Regions from separate parts of the Homo sapiens genome. Here all the other regions are linked to region 7. Evidence: promoter capture Hi-C in 16 types of primary human blood cells and fetal thymus (Javierre and others, 2016). All regions are on one chromosome and are shown on one strand. Each heading gives the region's core, a stretch centred on a gene start or on the middle of the fragment in contact. The rest is flanking DNA. Distances are from core to core; before and after follow the strand shown. Region 1 holds the start of ELAVL4 (ELAV like RNA binding protein 4). Region 2 holds the start of LOC105378711 (a long non-coding RNA gene). Region 3 overlaps ELAVL4 (ELAV like RNA binding protein 4). Region 4 has its middle 28 kb from the start of LINC02808. Region 5 overlaps FAF1 (Fas associated factor 1). Region 6 has its middle 18 kb from the start of ELAVL4. Region 7 holds the start of BEND5 (BEN domain containing 5).

The links. Contacts are between HindIII fragments. The CHiCAGO score rates a contact against its expected background, and 5 or more counts as called.
Region 1: a fragment that was not itself captured here is called in contact with the fragment with the promoter of BEND5 in region 7 in 4 of 17 cell types (M0 macrophages, fetal thymus, M1 macrophages and 1 more); the score reaches 8.8 in M0 macrophages.
Region 2: a fragment that was not itself captured here is called in contact with the fragment with the promoter of BEND5 in region 7 in 1 of 17 cell types (endothelial precursors); the score reaches 6.9 in endothelial precursors.
Region 3: a contact is called between a fragment that was not itself captured here and the fragment with the promoter of BEND5 in region 7, in 1 of 17 cell types (M0 macrophages). The highest score is 6.7, in M0 macrophages.
Region 4: a contact is called between a fragment that was not itself captured here and the fragment with the promoter of BEND5 in region 7, in 5 of 17 cell types (M0 macrophages, M2 macrophages, M1 macrophages and 2 more). The highest score is 12.7, in M0 macrophages.
Region 5: a contact is called between a fragment that was not itself captured here and the fragment with the promoter of BEND5 in region 7, in 1 of 17 cell types (M0 macrophages). The highest score is 5.3, in M0 macrophages.
Region 6: a fragment that was not itself captured here is called in contact with the fragment with the promoter of BEND5 in region 7 in 1 of 17 cell types (M2 macrophages); the score reaches 6.4 in M2 macrophages.

Annotation. Positions count from the first base shown.
Region 1 is chr1:50,107,244-50,109,943 of GRCh38, reverse strand. It overlaps ELAVL4 (ELAV like RNA binding protein 4), which reads right to left and starts at 1,024. Exons shown (of 7, transcript NM_001144774.3): 1 at 746-1,024. The coding sequence starts at 754. The HindIII fragment of the contact is 609 bases long and covers 1,031-1,639 here.
Region 2 is chr1:50,258,174-50,260,873 of GRCh38, reverse strand. It overlaps LOC105378711 (a long non-coding RNA gene), which reads left to right and starts at 2,118. Exons shown (of 10, transcript XR_947315.4): 1 at 2,118-2,700. LOC105378710 (a long non-coding RNA gene) reads right to left here. Exons shown (of 2, transcript XR_947314.1): 2 at 2,672-2,700. The HindIII fragment of the contact is 2,988 bases long and covers 1-2,700 here.
Region 3 is chr1:50,130,265-50,132,964 of GRCh38, reverse strand. The region is part of intron 1 of ELAVL4 (ELAV like RNA binding protein 4); the gene reads right to left. Among named protein-coding and RNA genes, the nearest start is that of ELAVL4, 23 kb to the right of the region's middle. The HindIII fragment of the contact is 1,117 bases long and covers 772-1,888 here.
Region 4 is chr1:50,348,042-50,350,741 of GRCh38, reverse strand. No RefSeq gene overlaps it. Among named protein-coding and RNA genes, the nearest start is that of LINC02808, 28 kb to the right of the region's middle. The HindIII fragment of the contact is 1,191 bases long and covers 738-1,928 here.
Region 5 is chr1:50,453,094-50,455,793 of GRCh38, reverse strand. All of the region lies in intron 18 of FAF1 (Fas associated factor 1), which reads left to right. The region is part of intron 1 of FAF1-AS1 (FAF1 antisense RNA 1); the gene reads right to left. Among named protein-coding and RNA genes, the nearest start is that of FAF1-AS1, 13 kb to the right of the region's middle. RefSeq lists an enhancer at 2,163-2,664. The HindIII fragment of the contact is 1,856 bases long and covers 352-2,207 here.
Region 6 is chr1:50,089,627-50,092,326 of GRCh38, reverse strand. It overlaps a transcript of ELAVL4 not described here. Among named protein-coding and RNA genes, the nearest start is that of ELAVL4, 18 kb to the left of the region's middle. The HindIII fragment of the contact is 6,186 bases long and covers 1-2,700 here.
Region 7 is chr1:48,775,623-48,778,322 of GRCh38, reverse strand. BEND5 (BEN domain containing 5) reads left to right here and starts at 1,432. Exons shown (of 6, transcript NM_024603.4): 1 at 1,432-1,717. The coding sequence starts at 1,492. The region is part of intron 6 of AGBL4 (AGBL carboxypeptidase 4); the gene reads left to right. The HindIII fragment of the contact is 5,361 bases long and covers 1-2,700 here.

The DNA.
Region 1 (2,700 bases), core at 86-2,585, 1.3 Mb before region 7:
CATCTGTGATCAGAAGAAGATGGACCCTCACACAGTGTGTCAAAAGCGGAAAGGAACGTTATGTAAAAGCTGACATTCCTTCTTACAGAGCTGCTGCCCAGAGAAGGAAGCAACAACTCAACACGCCAGGCACTGCTACACATACAAGCCGCCTCCTCTTTTTTATGAGGTCATGACAGGAAACTCTTTGAAATACAAGATGCAGCATTTACTGAAGCCCAAATAAATCACTCTCTTTGCCGTTTTGACTGCGCAGTCCCCCGAAACACAACTGCCCATCTCAGTGTTCAGTATCCAGGAGCTGCCTCTCGAGGTTTAAATTTCCAGCACGGAAATTGAGAGATTCCTAACCCCGCTGCATCCACCCCCAGCCCCACAAAACCCAGGCACGTAGACAAACCCCCTCTCCCTTACAAAAAAGAAAACCCTTCTTTTGCCATTATGTCTCAAGTAATATAACCTCTTTCAATAAACCAGCAATTATTTCAGCCCTCCCCCTCCACCCCTTGCCTTTATGTTGAAGGGAAAACTGACAACGACTTGCTAAAAATGACAATCTTATATCCCCATTGCTTTTCAATAAAAGGACCTACCCGCACTCTCTACACAAAAGAGATAGTAAATGTAGGAACCAAACAGCAGCACAGAACTAAACTCTTGTGCAAGCATAAGACTGGTCAAGGTGTAGATGCTTTTCTTCCCTCCAGCAACACAAACAACAGATTATAAATCTAGTCATACCTACCATAACCATTCTTATTGGCAAATATTGGGTCTCGCAGAGCTTCGACTCTTCTGTTAAAATTTGCAAAGATTTCAGAATATATATTTAAAATGACTACTATTGTTATATATAATTAAAGATCCACAAAACACAGTGTGGATGATTGTAAAGCAAATCAATTATTTTTGGGGGGGTGGGCGGGGGAGAGAAAGAAAAAAAAGAAAAGGAGCAGTGAGCTGAAACCCCCGATTCTAGGATGTAGATAAGAACAACTGAACAGAGCCTTGCTGAAATTGGCTCGAAGCTTCCCCTTTTTACATCCATTTATGGGACCATCTGTCAGCCGAAGCCTGGATCTGATTGGCTGGGGAAACGAAGGGAGGCGTTGCAACATCAGGTGCTATTTAAATTAGCTACTGCCAGATTGACGATGTTAATGATTTGGTGACCTCTACAACAACAGAGACCAGATTTCTGAACTGCTTCTTGTGTCTGGTAATTAAGGCCCGGCTGAAGCAACAACAGCCATACTTGTATTTTTACCTTTTCCCTCCTCCCAGCTCAAAAGTACTGTAACAACTGCAGGTCACTGGAGGCTTGCAAACCTAAACTAACAGTGGGAGGGTCCTTCTTTTCCCATCCTGAGGGCCGAACCGTGCCACCTCTCTGATGGAGGGCTTTTCCACCGTAGAATATTTTCAACCACCTTATCTTTCTAGACAGTTGCTTTCTAGCGAAATGCATATTTAATGATCTGCCTGTAGGCTTAAAGGTACAACAAAAGCACTTTAATGTGCTAATTCATCTACAATTTAACTTTATTATTTCCAGATATTGCTGATTTTTAGTAAGTAATGCTCCTTCTCCAGCTAACATGGCCAACATTTCAAAAGCAAGCAAGTTGGGGATTAAGCTTGCTCCGTGAACTAGGTTCATACAAGTTTGTCTCAGAAAACTATTTCCTAATAAACAAAAAGAAAAAAAATGGTGGGGGTAAGGGAGGGGCAGCTGTCAGCCTCTACCTTTCTGCCTTCTGTCTGAGCTTTTCAAAACTGAGGATGATGAATGATTTACTTAAATGAATTTATTTTTCAAGTTGGATAGGAACATGATCTGAATTTTTAAAAATCCACTAAAACACATTCTCCTACCCCTTTAGAGAAAGGTAAAACATGCTTTTGACAACAGCCTCATTTCAAAACCTGTGCAGAGTGTTCATTTTGCTTAACTAAATAAGTGATTTTGCTTCTCTCCTTCAAAGGGATGTCTTTTTTTCTTTGGCCTCTTAAGAGATTTGCAAAGAGACATTTAGCAAGTGTATGGTGAGGTATACAGTTTGTCTGCCTATTTACACATTTAACAACCTCTACACTACCAAGCCTTCAGTAGTGTATTTTTTGTTCTGGTTTGGGTTTTTTAAGTGGCTTACCTGAGAAGTTCATGCTTCACACCTATGCAAAAGACTAATGTGTCACTATTTATTTAACTCATAATTTAATCAATTTGTTCTTCAATAAATACACAGTGGTAACACATATTACCAAATACAAAATTCAATGTAATCTTTAATCTTTGACTAGAGTTGACAGTGAGACAGAACTAGGCAGAGTAGACATACAGACCAAAAAATAAGCTATATTTCTGGGTTTCAAAGTCCAAGAATAAATGGGTTTGTGAAAAATTATTAGGAAAGAAAATAACCTTACATTTTTCAAGATTAAAACTATTCTGTCCAAGATGCTGTTTCATGAACACACACATATAAACATACATATATATTCACACTTCAGAAAATACAGATACATCATAAAACAATATGTGTTGGGTACACTGCATAATCCATTAGACTTGAGTATGAATACGTTCAGCTATTAGAAATGAAAATACATGAAATAGAAAAGTACAAATGTTAAAACTATAATTCCTTAAGGTGGAACAATACTCAGTTAAGTAAACTTTTAAAGTAATTTCTTTAG
Region 2 (2,700 bases), core at 43-2,542, 1.5 Mb before region 7:
TGTTATTACTGAGTGGCCTTGACTGAGTTGCTGAACCCCTCTGGGTCTGGGTTTCATGGTTCACAGCTGAGACATGTTTCATGGCTTCATTGTATTTTTGCACACACTTTTTTTCTCTGCTAGAATGCCCTTGTGCCTGTGTCTGCTGGCCAAATTTCCACTCATCCCTGAAGTACCCTCTCAGCAATCATCTCCCTGGGAAGATTCCTTAAATAGGCTTAGGTGTTCTTCTCTGGGCTCACATGTGATATACCTCTGCCCCCTTCTTCATTTCTGCTGTTTATTTTTGTGTTGCTTTCCTGCACCCTTCTCTCCTTCACCTCCCCCAAGTTTTTGCTCAGATGTCACTTTCTCCATGAGGCCTTCTTTGACCACCCAATCTAAAGCTACCACCCAAGACATTGCTTATTGCTTCCCTTGTTTTTCTTCTTACACATTTTATGTTCAGCCCCTCACCAGAATGCAAACTCTCGGAGGGCATAGATTTAGGTCTGTTTCAGTTACTGTTGCAACCCCAGAATCTAGAAGAGCGCCACACATAAGAGACAATATTTATTGAACAGATAAATGAATGAAGTGGGCTTCCCCCTTACAGCATTCCATGCTGAATGTTGGAAATATTTGTAAGACCAGTTTGCTACTAGATGGTGCTATGATTGAGGGACCCAAGACCAGCTGAATCCCATTATGGTGAAGCCTCCTTTTCTTCCCTTTCTCCTGTCAATGTTTCTAAGGATATTACTGCACAGGGTGGGGACTAGCAAATCAACTGGAGCGCGCAGACATGCTTTACTCTAAACTGAGGTTTTCATTCCAATGCCTAGCACCAAGAACCCCAGGGAGCTGAGCTGGGCTGCTGGGCATGCGCCTTTCCCCTAGCTCATTAGGATTGCACTTCCCCACACCACAGCAGGCCACCAATGCCCAAATGTATGTCTCATATCTTACCACTGTGATTCAAGGAAATATTAACCCAATGCCCAGAAAAGTGGAGGGAGTGAGTAAGAGAGAGTGGGGCTTACCCCTATGCCCAGTGCCGAGCTGACCCAGTTGCAATGGGTGGATGGGGTAGAGAGGCCCTCCAAGGAGAGATGCTTGGACAAACAGCTTCTCTTTTAGGATATTTTAATATACATTTATCCATGATATATCCCCCAGGGTGGGTTTGTTTAACACCATAGGGCAAGATTCCGAATACAATGTTAAATGGAAAAAAAAGAAAACTATTATCATCTATCTATATCTATCATCTATCTATCTATCTATCTATCTATCTATCTATCTATCTATCTATCTATCTATCATCGCTATGTATGTATGTATGTATGTATGTATGTATGTATGTATGTATATACTGGAATGAAGTCCAGTCAAATGCTTCTGAGAGCTCTAAATATCCATCAGGTTGTACATTAAAGCACCTGTGGTAGGGGCCCAACAGGAGCTTGGGCAACAGAAAACAGCCTGGAATTGGGGTGTCAATATCAGGCCTAAGCTGATGGAGTAGGGCCTTTAACCTCTGTAGAAGGGTGATCACCTGGGGTGAGGACACAATGTGAAAAGAGCACAGTATTGGTTTTTTCCAGAAAGGGTGAAAGCCTAGGTCTGGAGATGAACTGGGGTTTCTCTCCTTTGTTCTTAAATTTCTGGCTGGGCCCAGGTTTGCTCACTGGGCATCCCAAGGTAAAAGAGCTTCCTGCTAGGGGTGCAACTTTCAAAAGCCCTTTTATAGAAATTAATATTTATTTAATCCAGAGAAGCCTTTAAAACTCAGGACTCCAAAGACAAAAACATAAAGGAAAAATTAATAAAGCTATAAAATTTTTAGACATAATACTTATCAAGTTATTGGAATTACTTGTTTAATATATTTTCTCCATCAGACTGTAAGCCCCATGGGAACAAGTACTGTGTATATCTTTTTCATTGTTATTTGACTGGTCTCTGGCACATATGAGGTGCTCAATAAATAATAATGATAATGTGTAAACAATAGGGAATCATCATGCTTCCAGTATTTGTTATGGTTATAGAAAATAACAACAATAACAAAAACTTTCTTTGGAATGTTTTCCATTCTTTCCTCCTTGCATATGCCAGGATTAATGGAAGAAAGTTTATACACCTTGAAGCATATTGGGAAAATTGCCACAGCACTTTGCAAATTCTCCCATCATGAGGTGGAGTGCATTTCAGGCTGGCTTTGTGACTTGCTTTGGCCAATAATATAAATGACACTGGGTGAGTTATAAGCCTAGTTCAAGAGGCATTGCAGCTACATCTCTTGCTCTTCTTGGAATACTGAGACTACCATCATGTGCTCAAGCCCAGACTACCCTCCTAGATGATAAAAAACACATGGCTCAGTTGATACCCATAACCACAGAGTTGATAGCCAGCCTATCTCCAAAGCAGAGCTTCCCAACTGACTCAAAACTATACACAAAGTGAATGAGCCCAGCCAAGATCAGCAGTGGAACTGCCTGCCTGAAGATAGCCCAAATACAAACCTACAGAATCATGACCTCTGTAAATGGGTGTGTTAAGCCACTGAGTTTTGGATGGTTTGTACACAGCCATAGATAACCAGTAAAGATATTCAGAGGTAATTAGAAGGTGTTTCATCCTATGCCCTGTCAATAGAAACACAAGTAAAATAACCAAACAAAGCTCATTGGGAAATGTGTAATGAAAGTCATA
Region 3 (2,700 bases), core at 81-2,580, 1.4 Mb before region 7:
GATTGATTATCTCAATTATATAAACAAGTACAGAGTAGGAGGGAAAAATAAAAAACACTAGAATAAATGGCAGAATTACAGGTGATTGTTACACTTTTCTCCATCTTTATTTGTCAACTCTGTTTTGTTTTTACAGTGAGAATACAGCAGTTTTATAATCTGAAAGGAAGTTGTTTTTTAAAAAAGAAAGAAAATGTCAAGTCCTTCAAACCAGTTTGGAGTCACAGTATTAAAAATGATTCTGTCTCCTCCCCAGAGCTATCCTGTAGGATCTCTCCTTGGACACACTCTGTTTGTTCCTACATTAGAGTACTCATGGGAGCCCAAATGAATAAAAATCACATTTCTAGAAACAGTCTCTGGTTCAGTCTCCCCTTCACCTAAATCACTGTGAATTAGCAAGGTTACAATCTTAAGTCTGCCTATCGCCCGGCAGCAACCTTCATGAGGACAGCAAGGAGAGAAGATGATTTATAAGAAAACCATTCCCTGGATCAGGGAGTGAAAAGTACTGATCCGTTCTAAAAGCTCCTGCTGACAAACTCTGATATTATGAACATTTTGCACTTGGACAAAAGCTCCCACTTTTGTTAATTACATGGTTTGAGCAGGAGTCTGCTTTCAGGATCTGCCCAATCACACAACAGCCATTTATTTTCCCAACTGCAGCTGACAAAATTTCCCTGATCTCTGTTCTGTGCTCCATCTTCAAGGACATCTTGTGAATGTATGACACTGTCAAGTGGCATTCCATACCACGCTTTTTAAGCTTCTCTCTCTCTTTCTTGCATTTGAACATCCTTCTAATACGTATCGATTAAAAATATCATGAACAAGAAGCAAGCAAAGTAGAAATGGAAAAAAACAAACAAAATCCAGAAATCACAAGTATCGGAATACTTACGTCTGCTCTGAGGCAAGCACTTTTTATGACATTAAACCACTAATATTCTCTGTCCTCTGCATGATGGGTTTGCTTTTGTTTTCAATATTAGGAAAATGGGTGCCAAATCTATAGTTTTCTGTGTGTAAAGAGCATGGGACCTCACTGCAAACTTCTGGTTTTTTTTTTTTTTTTAAACATAAATTTTACTTCTGAATTTATCTTTTTAAAATCCTCTTAGTTTCCCTTAATTTCACTTTCTTCATTGTTCTATTTGTTTGTTTGTTTGTTTTGAGACAGAGTCTTGCTCTGTCCCCAGGCTGGAGTGCAGTGCTGTGATCTCTGCTCACTGAAACCTCCGCCTCCTAGGTTCAAGTGATTCTCCTGCCTCAGCCTCCTGAGTAACTGGGACTACAGGCATGCGCCACCAAGCCCAGCTAATTTTTTTGTATTTTTAGTAGAGACAGGTTTTCACCATGTTGGCTAGGATGGTCTCAATGTCTTGACCTTGTGATCAGCCCTCCTCGGCCTCCCAAAGTGCTGGGATTACAGGTGTGAGTCACCGCACTCGGCCCATTGTTCTATTTTTTTAAAAAAACTCCTACTGTATGTATTTTTATGATTTGCCACATAAAAATAGAATTTTAGATTATAAGAGAATAAATAAGTTAGTATTTCTGTCTTCACAATCTTTTGCCTTTTCAAAATATGCTTTTGAAAGGTCACACTCACTAATTGGGCAAAAGTCAAGTTGGCATTTTTAAAAATCAAAAATAAAACTTTTAAATTATAAAAAAGACATGATAAAATTTCAAAAATTACATTTGTATTATAATTCAAGCTGCATAATCTACAATTCTCAGATAAGACCCTTTTAGAATTAATTTACTATGTCCCTAAGAATATTTAGTATATGATACATGTATATTATCATGTATATTTATCAAATGGATATAATACATGTATTTTGAAACTAAAACATTACTTTTCTGAGTAGGGTAAGCTTGTCCTTTGAATCACAGATACAAAGAAAATTTGTTTGGTAAACTCTTGCAACTCTTAATATATTCTTTTTATCCCAGAAATTTACCTTTTTTAAAAAGTAAAATGTTAACACATATTCAGAATCATCCATTGTCAATTAGAGCAATCTAAAATTTCTTTAGTTACAGGTATATATTTGAGGGCAAGTTATGAGACACAATTTAATGATGTTAATTTAGTACTTCATTGGAGCAGCCCCTCCCCCAAACTGAAGTTAGCTCTCAAAAGAAGGAACAAAAGCCAAGCTAAGTTTCCTAACATTAATGAGTTCCTTCGATGGGCCAGAAACCATTATGTTGAATGCCAGAGATATGAAGGAGAGAGAAAGAGTTCCTGCCTGCAAGGAAGTAAATAAATAAGTAAATAAGAAATTACTGTCTAATGTCATAAGTGTAGTAATGGAAAAAGTACATACAAAGTGCCTGGAATATGACAAACACTCAGTAAAGGGAAATCCTGTTATAATGCTGATTAAAAAGTGCTTTGAGTTACACAGGAAAATATTTAGGCAAGTAATTATCATTAAGTCCTTCCAATGGTACTAATAAGAAATGGTGAGAGGTGTCTTTACATACATCACTTCACTTAATTCTCACACAACTTTGAGAAGTGGGTATTGTCATTCCTCTCATTTACAGATGTAGAAGTGCTGTCACTCTACACATGATGGAGTAATGAGTCTTCAGGCAGAGTCCACTGTCACTTAACTAGGACTGTAACTTGAACCCAAGGCTGAAACCAAATTTGTGCCCTTTCTTCAATCTCTAAGTCTG
Region 4 (2,700 bases), core at 84-2,583, 1.6 Mb before region 7:
AATTCTGCATCATCCTGCCTCAACGGCCTGTAGTGTCTGCTGGTGTCTGTTGGTGTGCTCTTCTGCTCCTCTTGATGTCCAGCTGCTTGTGGGTGTGCCTGCTGTGGTCCCAGGTTTTTAATGGGCACAGGATGGGGGGTGTGATGGGCCAGACTGGTCTTGGAAAATGCAACATTTGGGCGCAAAAACAGGAGTGCTTGTCCTCACTTAGGTCTGTGGGCACAGGCCTGAGGGTGGAGCCCTCACCAGGGACCCTGCCCCTCTCTACCCAGCACTTCCCTGCCTCCTTTCCATATCACAGACCATCTGTCCTTGGGATTTTGAGATTTCCTATAGTCTTATAATCCCTTTTGGTTTCAGCTGACTTCAGGGGGCTTCTGTTCCTACCAGCAAGAGTCCCAACTAATATGCAAATATTCAAGATCTCCCAAGGAAATTAGGTGGAAGGAGAATGGCCTAGGATGGAAGCCTGGGGACCACCGGCATGTTACTCTCACGTGGGGAGGGGAAGAGGGCCCTGCAAAAAGACTGAGGAGCAGGAGGAAAATCAGGAAAGGTGGTTGCAAATGCAACCAGGATAAGGAATGATGGAAAAGAGTCCACTGCAACATGAGGATGCATGGGGACCTTGAGAACAGTGCTGGGTGAATGCAGATGAAGTCAGGCTGCAGGTGATTCAGAGAAAGTGCGCAAATGAGGAAGTTCATCTATGAGGGTAGATACTTCTGGAGGAAGCTTGACTGTGAAACGGGATAAGGAGGACACTGGTAAAGCTCAAGGGAAAAGGGTTGAGGGAGGCTCTCTCTCTCTCGCTTGCTCGCTCGCTCTCGCTCTCTCTTTCTCTTTAGGGCAGAAGAGACTTGAGGATGTTTATAGATTGAGGGGAGATGTTAATGATGCCCAGTTGAGAGGGGCTGATGTGTGCTCCCTGAGGGTCCAGGCACTGGGGACAGGCTGGACTTGGACAGAGGAGGGATGCTTATCTTCTAAGATGGAAGGGGAGGCGGCAGGAGTGGTTTATAGTGTGTGAGGGGAGTGTGGGGTGCTTCCAGCCTGATGCCTCAATCTTCCCATTGTAGTGAGACGTGAGCATAGCAGGTGGGGCTGAATGAGCTGGAGAAGAGTGGTGCAGGCATCTTGAAAGGGGAATGGGAGGAAGTGCTTCTAGAGAGTGAGCCAAGAGTAGGGCAGTGTGGGGGCCCTGCTGTGGTGGACCAGGTGTGCTGGAGCCTTCTGCATAGCAGGGAAGCCTACTTCAGCCAGCACAGGAGCTGAGCAGATAGATGGTGGAGTGGGGGTGTGGGTCACTGGGCCGCGGACTAAGAGGGCAGGGGTGCAGGGTGTTGTAAGTGCTGGTTCAGATGATCCACCAGGGGTCACCCAGGCAACAGGGGAAGGAGCAGTGGGGTCAGCTGAGAGAAAAGAGCAGGGGAGAGGCCCAGAGGCCCTCAGGAGGTCCAGGGCTGCAGAATGCTGCCAAAGGGCTCCCGGGAGGCAGGCAAGGGGAACAGCATATGTTTGGTGGATTCTGAAGGTGGGGTTAGTCTCTAGACAAAGTTATAACTCAGTCTATGGCCAAGGTCAGGCTCAGGCTATGACCACAGTCATGGCTCAGTCTTAGCAGGGCTCTGTCTGGGGTTATTTTTGTGCTCACTGTATGATCTGGGAGAAGTTGAGCAACTTTCCTGGTGAAGCAGACTGACCCCTGCACAACTGCAAGCTCAAACCCAGGTCTGTCTATTCACAAACTTGGGAACCAGCTCGCAGACCCTAGGCTGAGCAGAGTGGAGTTATCAGAGATTTCTTTCTTTCTTGGGGAAGCCTCTTCCCTGTCATCTCTGTATGTACCACTAGAGGGCAGCAGAGACTTGACTAATGGAAAAGGCCAGCACTTTAACCCAGCAGCAACCTGAAACCCGTGCCAAGCTTGACTCACAGGATCAGGGGGCTGGGGAAGGATTTCTCAACTCCACCTGCACCATCACTTGGTCCAGGCCCAACCTTTTTGCTGAGATCAGCTCCGAGGGTCAGAGGTCCAGACTCTGGAACCCTGACACTGACATTAACCCCTGACAAGGGACCCTTACCGTGCCTCAGCCCTGACCTCTCTCTGGCCAGATCATCAGTCCTGGAGACTGGGAGTGGGGTTTGATTGCATCTGTACCCCCAGTGCCTAACACAGAGCCCAGCACCGAGTGGGTGCTTTGGAAATGTTTATCCAAGCAGCACTTGGAGGGTGGAACAGTGCAATATGTTGGAAAGTGCCTGGCTTTGGGATCAAAGAGATCTGATTTAAAGTCTGGGTCTAGCTGTGTGATCTTAAGCAAGTCACTCAGCCTCTCTGAGCCTCTAATTCGCCATCTGTTAGAGGAAATACTGGCACCTAAGTTGAAGGGCCGTTGTGAGGATTAAATGAAATGACCCAGGGATGTACCCAGTACCAGAGACCAGTTGCTTAATGAAGGCAGCAATTATTATGATGCAGTTTTGAGGGATGGTGAGTAGCCGGGTGTGGTAGAGGAATAGGTGGGAGATGAAAGATGTGATTGTCAGAGGAGGCTGGAAGTCACAAAGGAGCCTGAATGCCACATTAAGGACATGCGGTTTTCTTCTGTCTGCAACGGGGAGCCCCTGAGGAACTCGTGATCTACTTGGTGAGATGGAACTATGATACAAGACGTGGGAAAACTTTTCTCTCAG
Region 5 (2,700 bases), core at 30-2,529, 1.7 Mb before region 7:
GCAGTAGGAAGGGGGTTAAGCTGGGAACCATGTCTCCTGGGGCAAAATTTTAATTCTTCTAGCCACTTGTTATGTGATCTCAAGCAAGGTACATACGTCTCTGGGTCTTTTTTTCTTTATCTAAAATATGAAGAGATTAAGTGTTTTCTTAATTTTCTTTCAGCTCTGATATTATGTGATTCTGTGATTAAATGACCTGGATGTTGATAATACATGCCCCATTGACAACTCTCTTCCGAAAACTAGAACAAAACCATTGGCTTCCTGGTCCTACTGGCTTTATTTAAGATCATCTTCTTTCCTTTTATATGACAGTGTCTCTGTCCCAGGCAGTTTATGAGGAGTTAAGCTTTTATTTACTGTAGCTGGAGGCTTCTATAAGCCAAGGCTTTGACAATATTTCACATTTATTTATCTGAGCTAGAGCTTAGGATCAGGTGGCAGCTAAGTCACCTAAGGTTATTCAAATGCATTGAAAATGTTGCTTAATAATTCAGAACCAGTTTTCTCTGTTTAGAGTATTAAGATTTTTTAAATCCTTCTAATTAGCCAATTCCAACAGCAGTTTAGGGAAAATTCTGTCCCCTCTGAAAGGGCAACTGATGCAGACTTACTGTCAGCCCCTGTATCTGTGTAGCAGAACTGACAGAAGCTAGAGCCAGAGAGCTTCCAGAGCCAAGGGAGCTGCTGGAATGACCTGCTGATGGTATCACCAACGGAGTCTGCCTGCTGTAGGAATGAGGCTGGGGGAAGAGGTCTGAGGATGCAGCTCCTCTAGACTCCATTTCTTTGAATTCATGGAGGCTCTAGGGAGGAGTGGGGAGTTTCCATTTAGTCATTCAGTAGATCAGTCTTTCAGCAAACATGTAGTGAACTTACACTGTTTCCAGCAGTATGCTAGGACCTGGGGATAGGTAGCCAGTAAAATCTCTTATGTGCCCTCAGAATTCAACCTGGCTGGAGAGACAGACTCATAAACAAATAATCAAAAGGCACAACAGATAACTCAGTGTGAAACTGTGGCTGATCCCTTGAGCTAGATCCTCTAGGATCTCTTGCCTGGTCAAAGTATAAGAATGCTGTTTTAGCAAAAGACAGGGTTGGCATTGCCAGTACCTGCATTCCACTTTAAACACTGACCTTATGTCAGCCAGCAGACCTTGGCAACTGCCTTGTCTGAGGATCCTAAGGTGAAATAAAGGTATTAGTCCGGTAAACATGGATTGACCACATGCAGGATAATGGGATAGGCATATGAGGGAGAGACCACAATGAACATATATGGTCACTGTGTTCCATGAGCCGATGGCCTAGTGAATGATTCCAGCTATGATTAACTCTGTTACAGGAATAGGAGAAAGATTAATTTAGGCTCTGTCACTCAGGCCTGATTTTATGGAGAAAGTAGCATCTGAGCTGAGCCTTGAAGGACATATAGGTTGGGACAGGTAGAACTGGAGAGGGAGGACAGTCTAGGTGGAGGAAACAACATAGCAAAGGTTCAGGGAGGAAAAGCACAAGACATATTTGAGGAATAGCAAACTGCTCTAATTGTCTGGCACATAGGGTCTATGAGAGGATAATATTTAGAGATCAGCATAGTAAGCAATGTTGGGGCCAAGCCCCTACCCCCTGTTCGAAAATTTAGACCCAGATTTCACTTATTTGATGTATTTTTTGAGAGAAAATATTTTGCCACTTCTAAAATGTTGTTACTGTGATAAGCTGTGATGATGCTCATAGCAGGTCCATAAGGTGGTACACCAGACAGATATCAACATCCTTGTTTAACAGACAAGGAATCTCAGAGGACAAAAAGTGACTTGTCCTAGAGCACACAGGTAATCAGAGCAGTATGCTAGGGTCAGGAGGCAGGTTTGCAGTTCCCCAAATGATGCTTGTTCTCTGACTCCCCTCCCCAGCTCTGAGCCCTGACCCTTTGTGGATATGGCAACTAAACTGATAGGGAATACGCATGAAGAAAAGGCTGGCCAGGTAAAATGCATATCTCCAGCCACCTTCAAGTACCACTTTCCTAGCATCCTCTCTTCCTAAATACTTTTCTTTCTCATCATGGTGCTTTTGCTTAAGCCCAGGAGTTTGGGAATTTTGGGTATAGGTTTGGTATTGTACAGGCCGCTGCTGGACCAGCCTTCAAAGAAAACACGTGCTCTGTTCATGATTCTTGCCTTCCAGTTTTATAAGCTTTTGGGTAGATGAAATGTACTATCAAAATAGCTCAGAGAGAGCCTTGGTAACATTTAAGATATTGAACGTGCTGCATCTGGTAACTAGAAAATTTAATGATCTCCTGCTGTTTTGGTAATTGGATAAGTAAATACATCAGAATAAATCACACCGGCAAGTCTTTTGTATGTCGTTAGGGACTAAACTCTTTTAACTCCTGTTCAAAGCCCCAGCTCTTGAGTGGTGTTTGCGTGCAGAGCAATGCACACACCAGCTCGCATGGCCCTGCTTGGATATTAAAATTCATTCAAAATGCTCACTTTCTCCCTAGCCCACTGGGCCTGAGGAGCACATGTAGCCCACCACTCCAGATCTCTCTGAAGCCAAGGAGAAAAGATTTTTTCAGAAGTTTAAATGATAACCTAATAAGGTATTTGAGCTCTTAATGATCTATGTCCAAACTGTCTTTCCAGCCACGTCTTTCATTGAAGTCCTGCTAGGAGCCTTCTCAGA
Region 6 (2,700 bases), core at 31-2,530, 1.3 Mb before region 7:
CTTGTGTGTCTGATGGTCATACACCTATAAGATTCAGCTCAAATGTCACCTTTGTGACATCATCCCTGACCTTCTAAGGAAGAACTTACCATGCTCTTTTTGTGTTTCCAATCCTGGCCCTTCCCCACACATATACCCATCATAACTTGTCTATATATGTACTTGTATCCATCATTTATTTATCTCTATTTCCATCTTTCCTACTAAGCTGTGAAGGCAAAGACCCTTATTTATCTCTGTATCTGAAGCACAATGCCTGGTACAGTTTGTGGATGGACAGATGGATTAATGGATCAACAGATGGACAGAGTCAGTTACAGTGAACTAGAATGGCCAAAAAACCCATCAGCTGATACAATCTTGTGTGGTCTAGGCGAAAGAGTTTGGAAGTATAGAGATTTGGGTACTCATCTTGCATACATGTCTCACAGACCTTAAGCGAGCCACTTAATCTCTCTGCACCTCAAGAAGTCTCATCTATTAAATGGGGATAAAACATGACATCCCTACCTCACACTACAATGGCTGGGGATTTTAACATGAGATGATAGAAGTGAAAGTGCTTAGAAGAAAATGTTGTTTCAATACAACATGGTTTCAGGAAAAGGAAAGCATTAGCAACTTTAACTTACTTGGAGATATTTTTAATGGAGGTCAGTGCTTCTTTTCCTTCCAAACTGACACATGGCTGTGCCTTTTTAAAGTCTGTTACGGAACAATAGGTGACAAATTTCTGTGTTGGGAGTCTTTGGGGGTGAGTTTCTTCTTCTCTTGCTAGACGTGAGGAAGAGGATTTGTCCTCTTTATGGGTCTGGGGTTTCAACTCTTGAGGTCTAAACACTTCTGATGGCCTTGAACTAATTTTGGCCACCATCGACAGAATGGGAGTGGAAAAATCCCTACCACATCTGCCTTGTCAGGGGGTGGAGGAGAGAACTTTCTAAATAGCCTCATTATTGGTCCCAGCTGAATTCTGCTCCTGTTCCATGATGCCAGCAAAAGCATTTTAGTAAGACGCTGCCAGCATCAAAAGCAGATCCACTTACGGTTTCCTGTAAGCGTATCTGCAATGGCAGAAGGTGGCGAGCAGCCAGGTGTGAGCGTGCGTGCTAAAAATCTCCAATACGTCAAGCTGGAAGAACAATTCATGAAATGAAATTCAACATTCTATTTCTACTCCAAGAACTCAGTTTAAGTCACCGGAAATTCAGATGGGTAATTCAGCTCCAATTCCCTTCTGCTTTACTGAATCAGAGAACCTCAAAGATAGAAAGGTCCTCTGCATTCTTCTAGCTTAAATTTCCCCCACCTTACTCCAGTAGGACTTGGAAAATAAGGGGTCACTGGACTCTGCTTACATACCTTCAGTGAAAGGGAGCTCATTCACTACTTTTCCAATAATTTGCCTCATTTTGGGCTACCTCTGACTGCGGTGCAGGGACTGCCAAGTGTCCACCCAGTCCTATTTCCTTTTCTGCCTAGCCATACAGCTAGAATACAGTGGGGCTGAGTGATTGAGCTCCGGCCATTGGAATGTGGGTGGAAGTGATGCACATCACTTTTAAGACTAGTCTCTAACAATTTCTCTATGATGTGCCATCTTCACTCTCTCTCTTCCTTTGCCTACCAAGTAGATGCAAAGGGTACAAAGGAGAACTCTGAGGCCCTAAAGGAGAACAGAGCCACTAGATGAGAGGCACCTGGGTCCCTGAATGACTGAGTGGAGTATAGCATCCTATGGACCCATGCTGAACTGTGAAATGAGCAAGAGCTAACCCTGACTGTGTCAAACCATTGAGATTTCAGGGTTGTTTGTTACAGTAATTGGCCTATTCTGACTAATATATACTGTTCAATTTTTTTTTTCAATTGCAATACTAGACTAAGTGTCTTGAAAGTTACTACATCACCATCTCCCTTAGAAGCCTAGTGGCACACATTGTATAGAATATTTTAGAATAGCTCTTTCTCTACACTACTGGCTTCTGAAAAGTGAAAAAGAGTAGTGTGAGAATGCAGAGGAAGGGGGTAGGAGAAAGGAGAGGTGGGGATTTTTTCAAGGACTAGTCTTTTTATATGTGAGAGTTTCATTTATAGCTTACAACAAACTTGAGATAGATAAAATCACTAACTTTTTAACAGGAGGAAAAAAGAGACTCAGTTGTCATACATAACCTCTGCCTGAGCCTGTTTAGCCTCTGTCATTCCCCACTGATTTCAGCACCAGAACCTTCCAACTGTCCTCTGTGGCAGACCTTTTTACAACCTCCACCCAACTCTCTGATGCCCAAATACCAACCTGAGAATTCCTATACTTTACATGTTGGGACCTCAAATGCTTTTGAGGCTTTTACATGACTCTTAAACATCTGAATCTCTTAGGCGTTGAGTTTCCCCATCTGGCTATTCTTCTGCAGGTGACCCTAGGAACCGTCTGTATTCCCACTGTACTTGGCCTTATCCTTCCCACCCCTGATGGTATCACTGAGAAAATACACCTCATTCCCCAAGCCCACGCTAAAAACAGAAAGGGTTAGAAAGATGGTTTTTTGTTTTTTGTTTGTTTGTTTTAGAGATAAAGTCTCACTCTGTCGCCCAGGCTGGAGTGCAGTGGTGCAATCATGGCTCACTGCAGCCTCAACCTCCTGGACTCAGGTGATCCTCCCACCTCAGCCTCCTGAGTAGCCAGGACCACAGACA
Region 7 (2,700 bases), core at 183-2,682:
GACTTTGCAAGGCCCAAGAATCCAGGTGTTTATCTTTTCATTTCTATCACCAGCACCTGGCCCAGAATCTGGCAGGTGGTGTAAACTCAGTGAATATTGGTTGCTTGAATAAAGGAATGAATGAACAGATGGATGGATGGTTGGATGGATGGATGGATGGATGGATGGATGGATGGATGGATGGATGTGGGTTTTTATTTATTCTTCTTTACCCAAAATTCATTAACTCCCTGTCAAGTGCCAGGTCTGGCTAGGCAACAGAAATATAACTAGCCATATTTGATACGAGGCATCCCTGTGAAGGTACTGACCTCCTCTGATGTGGGATAGGGTTCCTATGAGTACAGAGCCCAATCAGCCCCCTTTGGCTGGTCCTCACGGCTTGTCTTGGAGGGGACCCAAGCCCCTCCAGGCTCTCTTTGGCAAGAGACAGAGCAAAGACCGCTATTCCATGGAGTACTATTCCTGTACTCTTCAAAGTGCTCCAGAAATCCCTAGCCTTGGGCCTGTGTTACCCAGAGCGCTCCTCAACTCCCTCCGCGATTCCAAGTTGTCCCTGCTCAGTGGTGGGCGTGCTGTGGAGAGGGTATCTCAATGGAGAAAGACTATAGAGGAGAGGGGCGCCACTGCTCCCTCAGATGAGAGCAGCCCTTGACAAACCTTCCACCTCCCCAGCCAGCTGGCACAACTGGAAATCTCAGATAAGCCCCAGTTCTGGTCAGAACTGGTTTGGCAGCTCTAGGGGAAATTTTCTGTCTGACTGACCCTTTCCACAGAGGGAGCTGGCAGTTTTGCAGAACAAAACAAACAAACAAACAAACAAAAAGAAAGAAAGCAAAGAAAAGGCGGGGCCAAACTAAGGGCTGGGAAAGGCGCGGGGAGGGTGCGGGGCTGGGGGCGCGGGTAGGGTGGCTACATTTAAAACACTCCAAACTTCTGCTGGCTTCCAAGTTTACACTTTGAGATTCAATCAAGATTGCCCCCACCCCTATCCCGCATTCACTCACTCATACACTTCTCTACTTGGCAATGCAGTTTTGTTGCAATGCAATTTGGCAGCGCGATTGTTGAAGCAATATAATCCTGCACGCAGCGCACCTTTTAATCAATGCATTTTTTTCCTGCAATGCTCTTGTTATTATTTTTATTGCAACTGAATCTCTGAACCCTTTTCCCTCCCCATTCGAATCGCGCTCCGGCTGTGATTGCTCGGGTCTGACTTTGCAAGTGGCAGTGCGCTTCCAAACCCCCCTCATCCGCCCCTCGTCCCCCTTTCCCCCCCTCCCTCCCTTTTCCGCGCCCAGGCGAAAGCAGCCGATTGGCAGAACGGTGCTTTCAGGAACAATAACAGTGGGGGGAGCCTGGGTCCTGGGGAGCCGCCCCCGCCCCCCCCAGCACCGTAGCGAGACTCGCGCCCCCCGCCGGATCCCCACCTCCGCGCCCGCCCCGCGGGCTGAGCTGCCCGACCGGGGCCCGCCCCCGGCGCCCACCATGTACGCCTTTGTGCGGTTCCTGGAGGACAACGTCTGCTACGCGCTGCCCGTGTCGTGCGTGCGCGACTTCAGCCCCCGCTCGCGGCTGGATTTTGACAACCAGAAGGTGTACGCCGTGTACCGGGGCCCGGAGGAATTGGGCGCCGGGCCCGAGAGCCCCCCGCGCGCCCCCCGCGACTGGGGCGCGCTGTTGCTCCACAAGGCCCAGATCCTGGCGCTGGCAGGTGAGCAAGCGGGCGGGGAGGGACGGTGGGACCCGGGCGGGGGCTGGGACCCCGGGAGGGGCCGGGGGCCCGGGCGGAGGGGACCGGGGGGAGCCACTGCTTGCTCCTTCCTGCCTCCTTCTCCCGTCCTCTGGGCATTTCATTTGGGAACGGGGTGTCTCTAAGAGGCCAGGCCAGTTAAAAAGACCGGATGGTCCCCTTTGTCTTCCCCGCTTCCCCGAAGCTCCCGCGCTGTCAGTCCGTCTTCATCTCTTCATCTGTGTCTGTCCTCCTCTTTCTGATTCTTTGTGTTTTCTTCGTTCCTTCACTTTCCATTTTTCTCCCTACCTGTTTGTACCGTCATTTCTCTCTCACCTTCTCTTTACCTCTCTCCCAGTTCCTTCCCTCTGTTCTTTTCTGTCAAGAATTAAGTTTCTCAAGCTGTCTGTCTCTCTCCCTTTAAAGGCTGTTGGTACCTCCTTGGAGTGAGGAGCAAGAAGGATATTGTCAGATCTTCTAGGTGGGAGTCCCTCCTCACAGAGGGAAGCTATGACATCCTTGTCCCATCCGGGCCAACATTGGACAGGATGAGGAGGCCATGAACCTCAGTGCACTGGGCTCCACACCACACTCTCCTGCCCCTCCCTGGCCAGGTGGCAGAGGTAAGGAGGTAGAGGCCCTAAGGCATCCCTCAGCCTCCACACCCCTTTCTGAATCTCCCAGAAGGCTCCCTGAATGAGAGAGTTGAGGGCCAGGAGAGAGTTTCTGGGTCAGAATAACACTGGACCTCTCATCCCTGCCCTGCCAGGGCCCTGAGAGATGGGCTAAGGCAGCTAGTCTCATCTCCATTTCGTAGATGAGGGTACTGAGGTTCAGTTGGTGATAGGGAAAGAAACCAGCCCTTTATCCTCCTATGCTCCAGTTCTTCCTGCCATGCTGAGACACCTTTTCCTTTGTAAAGAGAAGACAGCTGGCCCTCTTTCCCAGCTAGTTCCAGAAAGTTT